Linked DNA regions of Homo sapiens: region 2 is linked to region 1. Evidence: promoter capture Hi-C in human tissues and cell types (Jung and others, 2019). All regions are on one chromosome and are shown on one strand. Each heading gives the region's core, a stretch centred on a gene start or on the middle of the fragment in contact. The rest is flanking DNA. Distances are from core to core; before and after follow the strand shown. Region 1 holds the start of CPED1 (cadherin like and PC-esterase domain containing 1). Region 2 has its middle 29 kb from the start of LINC02476.

The links. Contacts are between HindIII fragments. The study calls those that stand out against the background at their distance.
Region 2: a fragment that was not itself captured here is called in contact with the fragment with the promoter of CPED1 in region 1 in 1 of the 25 tissues and cell types used here (heart left ventricle).

The regions. Positions count from the first base shown.
Region 1 is chr7:120,986,090-120,991,134 of GRCh38, reverse strand. It overlaps CPED1 (cadherin like and PC-esterase domain containing 1), which reads right to left and starts at 2,424. Exons shown (of 23, transcript NM_024913.5): 1 at 2,223-2,424; 2 at 1,265-1,744. The coding sequence starts at 1,513. RefSeq lists an enhancer at 3,169-3,248. The HindIII fragment of the contact is 8,627 bases long and covers 62-5,045 here.
Region 2 is chr7:119,933,523-119,938,567 of GRCh38, reverse strand. No RefSeq gene overlaps it. Among named protein-coding and RNA genes, the nearest start is that of LINC02476, 29 kb to the right of the region's middle. The HindIII fragment of the contact is 4,038 bases long and covers 98-4,135 here.

The DNA.
Region 1 (5,045 bases), core at 1,175-3,674:
AAGTTCTTGTAGTTGTGGTTTCAAAAATTATTACAAGGGCTTTGAATTGACTTTTATTTGGAGCATCAGCCCTGCAGTAGGAACCAAGCAGCTTGATAGCTATTGCTCTGGGGATGCATCTTGTCATAATGCTAACCATGTGACCTACCTAAATGGCACTGTCAGGCTCCTTGTTCATAAAATGCTAATAATCCTATCTACTGTACCTGTCTCACAGGGCAGTAGTCTGAAACGAAATAAATAAAAGAGTTTTTAAAAGAAGTGGTGCTGGTCAATCGTGGAGGTTTTGGTAATAATGGTAGCAACGGAGCTGGTGTTCAAGTAGAAATTCTACTTCAAACGGTAACCGGCATCATAAGATCGACCAGAATCTACTGTAGATATAAGATGCTACTTACAGAGCCCTCTATTTTGTTGCTACAATACTACTTGTTGTAACATAAAATTTAGTAGCTTTGCCACCATGATCTTTTTTGCATGGATTTTTTTTTATTTCTTCATGTTCTGTTTTACACTTGACTATGTTACAGGTCATTATATTACTGATAGGCATGAGGAGAGTGGTATATTAAAATAGAAATCCTGTGTTACTTTGTGTGCTTTTTGTGTTTTTTTTCAATATTTGACAAGTAAGATTAGTAAGTTTATCTGAATAGTATAAATATAGAATAATCTGTATTTCCCTGATCCTATAAACAATAAAATACATTGTATCAATTCTTTTGAAGAAACCTATTATCCTATTATTTTAATGCTTTCGAAGTAAATATATTGCTTTAGAAATGTGGTCACCAATTAAGAATCAATCTAGCTAGTTACAAAATGAAACTTTGGAGAATCTTTGAGTCTGGAATGGTCTGGGCACTCATACTGACTGCCTTGAGAAAAGAGACACTCAAGGTTTATCAAAGTTTTTGAAACTTTGATTTATGTTTTTGAATTGTAAATCCTCAGATCTCTTAGAATACTGATATTTTAGAAAGAATCCACATCATTTTATGCCTCCTCCAAACTGTCTACTTCATTCCACTGAAATGAAGTGAAATCCTAAGAGATAAAGTAATGCCAGAACTTTCTGGAAGTAACTATAAGAAGTTGAAGCTTATGTAACGTGTTTCCCAGTCATCAGGTCACTCTCTAGGCTGTTTACACTCTGGATCCCTTTCAGACCTCATGGAAGTTAATTTTAGTTTTATAGAAAGGACAGAGAAGCAGATTGCTGTCTTTGCAGAAACTGTCTCCGTTAAGCTTATGAGAGTCTTACCTTTCTGGTTTCCTGGGCATTACCAGAGAGAAGGAAGCACTGTTTGTCCTGAGAGAATCCTTTCTTGCATCTGCTTGCCTGGGTTTCAGTGGATGTGTGTGGGACAGCCCCAGGGGCAGCGGCTGTGAGCTTCCTCGACCCTCGGAGGGTCAGAGTCTGGTAGAAGAGACAGATTGCCACCACTAAGCCCACCAAGAAGGGTCGGGGGCAAAATCGCCGACGACAAGGGAACACTGGGCGACAGACCATGACCAGTTCAGCTTCACTTGGCCCCTGTCCACGTTGCGGGAAAAGTCATAGCAGCTATTTTTTGTCAGCATGAAAAATACTAATCTGTCTTCTTTTTCCCCAACTCCAATCAAGTTTGCTTCATCCCTGCTTAAGAATTTTCCAAAAGGTTGTGCCAAAGAATCATAGGTCCCGAAAGTCTGAGGCTTTTAATAAGAGCTCTTCCATGGATGACAGTCAAAAGTGGATGACCTGAGTTTAAAAAAAGACATCAAATAATAATAGTTGTAACGAATAACCTGAGTGTACCCCAGGCTGCCAAACTGTTGCTTCCAGCAATGCCTTATTCTCACATCTTTCAACTCACAGTAAAGGAGTCCGACTCTGCCTCAGCTTTGCAGGAAGAGAGAAAACAATACCAAAGTATATCTGGAGTCTGAAAACAGCATTGAAGAACGCAAAAGATTAAAACCCAAAGTGCCTGTTGCACAGCTGAACTCAGGCCAGGTTGCCTTAGCAGTTCCTCAATTTTCCTCCGGTTTTAAAGCAGTCTTGCTTTCAGCCTTTTGTATGCTTCCCTTCATTTAGTTTTAAATTCCCACTGTCCTGTAAGTATTCACGGCTTTTAACATAAAAAGGGCATACGCAATTTGAATGGACATGGTTACTGTCAGGGTTTTTGCTTGAATTTGTTTCATTCCGTCTCAAGTTCAAAGTTCTATGTACTTACTCAGTTTTCATCCTTTTAGCCAGGAAAAAAAAAGTTTCCATGATTTCCTAATGGATTGCTGATGAAAACCACTCGGAAGGAAACACCCAGTCGTATGACTCCAATTCATCTCACACACACACAGAGAGAGACACACACACACACGCACACAGACACATAAACACACGCGCGCGCGCCCGCTGCACGCCCGGCGGGAGCAGAGGACCTCGGCATCGCAGCCACCCGGGGCCGGGCAGAGCGGGGCGGAGCTAAGGCCGGGTTCCTCTGGCCCTGGGGGCTGCTGGAGCAGCGCTGTCAGCCCTGTGTCCGAAACCGTGGGCTTCCCCACTTTGGAAACAGCAGCTAGCATTTCCCCAAATGAGGCTGCCCACCCAGAGCTGCAGAATTTAGAAACGTATCTGATGTCTGATCCTCTGTGCAACTTCTTTTTCCTAATACAGAATTGGAAAAACAAATAGCCTTAGCCAATTGGTGACAAAGGTCGAGAATGAGACTAAAGTGAACTCCATGAGTGAATTGGGATATTCTTCACTCCAGGGAATTGTGGTTACTCTTCTGAGGATAAGAGGGTCACAAGTACTGTCTGGACCTCAGACAGCAAGCACCAGAATAACTCAGTCGTCTCTCTGTGTCTTAGTATGGAACTCAGATCACAGATGTTCTTATTACTCCTTTCCTGGACTAATTAATTGGGTCTTTCAATGATCTGATGCTTCATGGCCTGACATTTTGCTCCTAAAATGAGTCGATTATAGCAGGTGTTGGGGGTAACTTTTGCCCAGTAGATAAAGGTACACAGTGGGCTTTGTCCAGAATCAGCTCAGTCTAATTCTGTGCAGACCTTCGGGTGGACGCTGCTAATAGTGCAATTCTGCAAACCCCCTTCCACTTTTGCTGAGGCTGTCAAGGCGAAAGGAAATCAGTCCTTGCTTTGTGAACTCTGGATACCCAGGGCTGTCTTAGCGCATAGCAGGCATTATTTAAAGGCTCTGGACCTGAAGAGGTTTTCAAACTTGTTTCTAAGCCAAACTCTTGTGGGTTGAGGTTCTCCGTGAGGCCACACCCCTAGAGTGAGCCTCACCCAGAGGCACGCTGCTGTCAGCCCCTTGTATTTTGAGAGACGGAGCGCCCCCTAGGGGTGCCCAGCTAGCACAGATTCAGAGAAATGGGCATCTAGAGTTCCTTGCTTGTGAGAAAGAAACCCTTTTAACATCCTATAGAACAAATTAATTAACACATTACAGAAGAAATATTCACACGGAAGCTGGATTTATCCCAAGCCCTTGCATGTATCGCCTCCAGTGGCTTTAATATTATTTTATGTATAGGTTCAGAGTCCTTAATCTTATGACAAATGGGATAGAGAAAAATAAAGTGATGCTTCACTTTTAGAAGCCAAAAGAGTTTTAAGAGAAAATGGCTGAACAGTGGTGTTGTAGGACATATCGTTTTGGTGGATGCAATGTGATTTGAGAGATAATAAGAATTGTGAGATTTCTAAATTGGAATCCAGGGTGTGACAATGCTGTTACTGAGTGATAAGGAATAGGCAGACAGTTCTATTAAGTTCTGTTAAGGCAAGAAGTCTGAAAAACAGAGTTTGGGGAATCTAAAGAGTCATTCTTATGCTTTATTAAATTGTTGAGAACAAGGTACAGAAGAAAGTAAATCAGATGCTAAAATAAAATTGCCATTCGGTTGGGAGAAATGAAAGACAACAGTATTGAAAATTTTAAGATAATATAGCTAGACTTCAAATAATGGGAATTGGGAAGAAGGTGGAAAATTAGTATCCCAGAAATGATTCTAGTAGATTAAAGAACCCCATTTCCCATTTTAACCACTGAGTCCAAGGGAGTGGAAGAAAGCAGTAAGGAAATATTTGCAAGAGAGAGAAAAGAGGTAGCTTGAGAAGGTGCAAACAAGAGGTGGAAAGGAGATATAGCAGGAATTATCACCAAATAGACTAAGGCGATACACAAGCATCTGATTTTAGAGTAAACCCAATCTGGATATGATTCATGGCACTGCCTTTTATCAGCTGTTCTTAAACAAGTGGTTTGACCAAAGTCTCAGCTTTCCTCATTCGTGATATAAGGATACTAATGTTTCCTTTGAAGTGTTGTTGGTACAACTAGTTGAGATAATATATGGAAAGCAACTAAGCATTCTGTATTTGCTGGATAAATGAATGCTGAATGCATGTATGTTAAGGTTTGAATCCTGAGGCTGTGCTCCTTCCTCACTGAGTTTATGGGAGATGTGGTGTCAGACACGTAAAAAGATAATTATCAAATAATGAGTCCCGTGGAACATCTAGACACCAAAAGCAAACATGAGCTCTTAGTTCTCTTCCTTTCCCTCTTTGAGATAGAAGTGCACCCACCAGCAGATGCTGGTTTGGGAGGACAAGGGCAAGGGTGGCATGAAAGCAGCATGTGGAGACTCTACCTGAGAGGTATTTACACCTGAGCAGTAGGTTACACACATTCGAATGGAATGACAGAGCTTGAAGGAGTCAGAAGAGTGAATGAGGCCGGTTGCGATGTCGCTCACCTGTAATCCCAGCACTTTGGGAGGCCAAGGCGGGAGGATCACTTGAGCCCAGGAGTCTCAGACCAGCCTGGACAACATGGCGAAACTCCATCTCTGCAAAAAATTAGCCAAGCCTGTTGGTGTGTGCCTGTGGTCCTAGCTACTCAAGAGGCTGAGGTAGGAGGATCACCTGAGCCCAGGGAGGTCAAGGCTACAGTGAGCCATGATTGTGCCACTGTACTCTGGCCTGGACAACAGAGTGAGACCATGTCTCAAAAACAACAAAAC
Region 2 (5,045 bases), core at 867-3,366, 1.1 Mb after region 1:
AGGAGGGGAGGTTCAGATCTAGCAGGAAAAGAGAGTACTTCCTATGGTTGCTTGTTGGTAATAGGTTCTGATTTTCCTTGATGGTGATACAATACTGCTTGTTGTCAGATGACTTTCGTTGGGTAAGAGGAAAGAATAAGGCAATCTGTACTGCCTGCTCTTCCTAGGCTGGGAACTGGGAAATGCCAGACCTAGTCTTCCCCTTCTATTAGTGGAGACACATACAACATCCTAGCACTGTGTTCTTTCTTCAGTCTTGGTATTCCAAACCACTTTGCCTTTCCCTTACCACCTTGCAGAGTTCTTTTGGTTACTTCTTGCATTATTCACAGGTTTTATATCGTACTTAAAGGGGAGGAACAGGGAGAAATGAATCTATGACGTCTTAGCTGGACCTGAATTCAGCATCTTAACTTTTGGCGAAAAGCCTGATAGTTTCTTATAATCTTAGCATACCTCTTCTTGACAATTTCAGTTTCTGATATTTGCTCAGGGGAATAAAAATTTTAAAAAACGTGAAAAAACAAAGCTGATTTATTCATAATTGCTTCATTCCAAACCGGAAACAGCAGAAAGTCATTCAGTGTGGAAATAGATTTTTAAAAATCTGCTGCATATTCATACAATGGAATACTATTACGCAATAAAAAAGAATAAAATATTTAGGCAGCAACAAATATTAATTTCAAAAATATTATGTTGAATGAAAAACCATTATATAGAATAACACATAATGTTTACCATAATGTTTATTTCTATTTTTCTCAGTTTCTGGAAAAAGCAAAATTGATTTATGGTAGAGAAAATTCAAAAGAATCATCATTGTTCTTGGGGTGGTGAGAATGTGTATTGACTTTGAAAGAGCAAGAGGGAAATTTCTCAGGCGATGGTAACATTTTACATTTTGTTAAATGTTTGGATTTCACAGGTGAATGCATTGGCCAGAATATCTGAGACATCTACAATTAAGATCTGTGCATTCAGTTGTGTATAAAATTTACCTAAGCAGTTTACAAATATTAAACATTAGTTGATAATATGCATGCTTAAATATTTGGAAGAAAGTATATGGGTATCAACAACTTAATTTGAAATACACAATAAGGTATATTGACTGATCATTACAGAAATGGAAAGGTGGAAAGATGTATAATATGTATAAAAATTTAATTGTCAAATCTAAAAAGTGAGTGTTTAATTATCAGCACAAAATTCTCAAAATGTCTTCAAACTTCTTCATGCTTGTTAAATTTTAATAATAAAATACTGAAAGAATGGCAGAATGCTTGCTTCCCTTTGATATGTACTAAAAATGTCTAATGTCTTTATTTGGGATATTCAGCTCTTTGTTCTAAGGATCTAATTTACCCTGTGCATCTCTTTCATGATGGATAACTACTAGTTTTTTTAGGGCGGAGAAAATCATGTATGTTAAGTATGACATCTGCTTAATGAGTAACATCTGCACCAATAAGTATGACGCACTGTACATGATATGCTCTATCTTGTAGTATTAAACTTTTTTTCTGATTACATCTTCCCAGATGTTTGTAGTTTAACTGTATCTTACTCAGAGGGGTACACTTTTAACTAGCATTTTCTGAATACAAACCTCAAGGTATTCATATTATACAACCAATTTTAGCACAAGGGATGACTGCTGGGATAAATTAGGGACAATAGAGAGGTTATTACATCATATCATGGAACAAAACCCTAGCAAGCATGCAAACTCTGTACTTGGGTTAACATTGCAGCAGATTACACAGCTGTACTCAAAATTGAAACTTTTAACATGTATTTATATCGATAATTATAACTAATGCAAACAGAGAGGTAAAGTAATTGAAACAAACAAACAAAAGAAACACAGTACTACCTCTGGCAAGACATCACAAAATAGTTTACAGTTTATTCAATGAAATTTATTCAAGTTGTTATAACTCAGTGGCAATACTATTTTAGAAAATACATTTTTATATCTTCTCTTTTCTTTGGTTAAAAATAGCTTTCACTGACAAATAGAAATTTTGGGGTTTGTTTTCTTCCTAAGTCAAGTTCTGCATTATGAAATATTCTATTAAATATTGATGGGTATTAAGAAACAGGTACTACTTTTACAATATTTAAAATATTGGGATTATATTTCCATGAGTTTTGGTAACTTTTCAACAGCTAGGAGTCTTGGCACCAGAAAAATAATTAGCATCACCCAGATGTAGCTCTATCAACTATTAGACTATTCTGTAGCAATATTTTTTTCTAAAAATTTTGAGCAGATAATTGGAAATTAAAATCAGGCATTAAGAGAATAACAGTTTTTATTTCAAAGCTATTTGCTACCCTTCTGCCTTCTACCCTCTGCATTTTACATACTTATAAATCTGAAATGAAAGCATTTTCTTTGGTTAAAACCATATTCTCTTTTAAAAGCAACATTTTGGAGTTTTATGAGAGTAATTAAAATTGAGAAGCTCGATGATATCCAAACCTGAACTGTTTTGAAAAATATAAATGATGTACTTAATATGTGTAATTGCTAATTTATATTTCTTGTTCTAAAACTGGTTATTAAACAATCATGCAGAAACAAAATATAATTGACGTCTTTTAGGATGAGTTATTTTTTCAAACAATTTAAAAGTATGGTTATAGTTATAGACCAACATGTAAGCAATTATGAGATTTATGAATCTACTGACAATTCTCTAGCTTCAACTCATTTATATGTTGATGAAGCTTACTAATGTTTTGGAACAATCAAACTGATAGTTATATTACTTAAAGGAAACAACTTATTACTAAACAGATTTTATACTATCATTAATTCTTAATCACTTGAAATGACAACTGAATATTTTTAGTCCCTAAAAATATAACCAAAGCTATTATGTTATTTTAGATAGGATACAGAAGTAATCTAAGGATTCATTTCCGAAATACTGCCATCTTGTGGTATTCTTCACAGAACATCTAACAGTCATTTATGATACGGACTTTGGGTAAAAACAAGAAGGGTACTCTAATGACATAAATAGACCCAAATGAATACCGTGGAAACCTAGAGAGTGAAAATAATCTTTATCTTAAGAACTATGAAAGATCCCCTTAGTATTCATCTGGATGAGGAGTTCCAATACAATATTTTATAAGCAAAAAGAGATAATTTATCTTATTTGTCTATACATTTCTTAATAGAAAATAATTCAAGGAGAAAGTGAATCAATACTAATTTTCTCTCTGGAGAGAAAATACTGTTTTGTCTCAATCCAATTCATTTCAATACAACTACTCACTGAGCATTTTTAATAGAAGGTTTACACATTATTTGGCAACAAACACAGGGCTGTGACTACTCTTTGATTTCCTTTTGGGTCTTTATGACCCAGGTCTCATTTGTGTTATGACTTGTATTATAAAGTTCCAGGGGTTGTGCCTTATTTTTACACCGTTGAGTTGTTTGGCGCTCAGGGTCATCTGAATTATCCTCACTCTCTTCAGCGACAGAATACAGACCTGCAACAGATATGGAAATACACCTCTTAGCTTATAATCTATTTTTTTCACTGAAATGTAATTATTTAATTGTTTACTTATTCACTAGTTTGACCCCTAATTTAGTGCAACTCTTTCCAAAAGCAAAATTTACCACCAATAAAGATGGATAAAGGATATTTGACATGATTTGAAGATCACTTCAAAAATTCTTTAGAAGTTATTGGCAAAACTGCAATCTTCATTTGGATCTATAATCTCTGTTATATTAACTCATTAAGTCAAATGATCAATCATGCTATTTTATGGTTTTATTTTTAGGGGTTCATTAGTTACACAAACATTAAATAAAGATAATGAAGCTATTATAAAACTTAGGGAAAGAGTAGTTTCATGGTCCTTTGCACTGAAAGGTTGCCTAGATCTCTAGTAATGCACCAAAAGCATTTGATAAATTGTGAACATGAGAACAATGTCTGTAAACACTTTCAAGATCAGCTTAGGCGTCCTCTGGTAACTGAAGCAGAAGGAAGCATTTTCAAAGTGATGCCAGAGCAAAATGCCCTTAAGCTTTGAGTATTGAAGCAGTTTTCACACAATAAAAGAAAAACTCCTTATGAGGCAACTTTGCCCTTGCTCTCAAGACACTCTTATTTTCTGCAGCAGAAATTAATGTGAATACTATCAATGAACCCAACCTTGTAATAAGCTTTGCTTATATCTTTGGCAAATGTTTTGTGTTTCTCTGCATCCTGGTCCAAAAATTTCAAGTGCTTTTACTTTCCATGATGAGATATTAACTATAGAGAAACTTCAGTATTTTCCTTCAGGACTGAATCCCTCACCCCGTGGCATAATCAAGAATATTGCTGCCCTTCCTCTTTAAGTCTTTAAATACTCAATTTCAAATTCAAAGTAATCAATTTTAATAGGAGGAAAAAGCATAATGGTTTTGAATAAGTACCAGTGCTGATATGGCAAGACTAAAATAATCTATTTTATTTCATGTATGAGTGATATCTCCATAAATGCCCATTATTGTTAATAATTTAGTTCAAGATACCATTTGAATGTAATCTACAACATGAAAGAAAAATAATTTTTATACATTAAAAACTCCAGGATGATTAGAAATGCCAAAATGAAAAGAATCTTGGCAAATATGCCACCTAAAAGCATAATTATTTTTCAAATAGATAGTAAAACCGATATGCATATGACATTAAATATATAACTCATGCACATGGTATTAAATACATAGGTGAAAAGACACCTTATTATATTATAGTGCTCTTCAATACAAGTTCTCATTGCACCTAAAAACTTTCTATACTAATTATATTACCATAAAAAATTACAGATTGACTTAAATGCCCAATACTTCCAGTAAGCATGACGATTTTAAAGTAATTTAAATCTCTCAGTGCAATTCTTTTTGAAATATATGTATATATTAACTATTCGATATTTGAACACATGTCGCCATAAGTTCTTAAAAATATGTATTTATATGCATAAACAAGCATGTTTTATAGAAGAGAAGTGCTTCT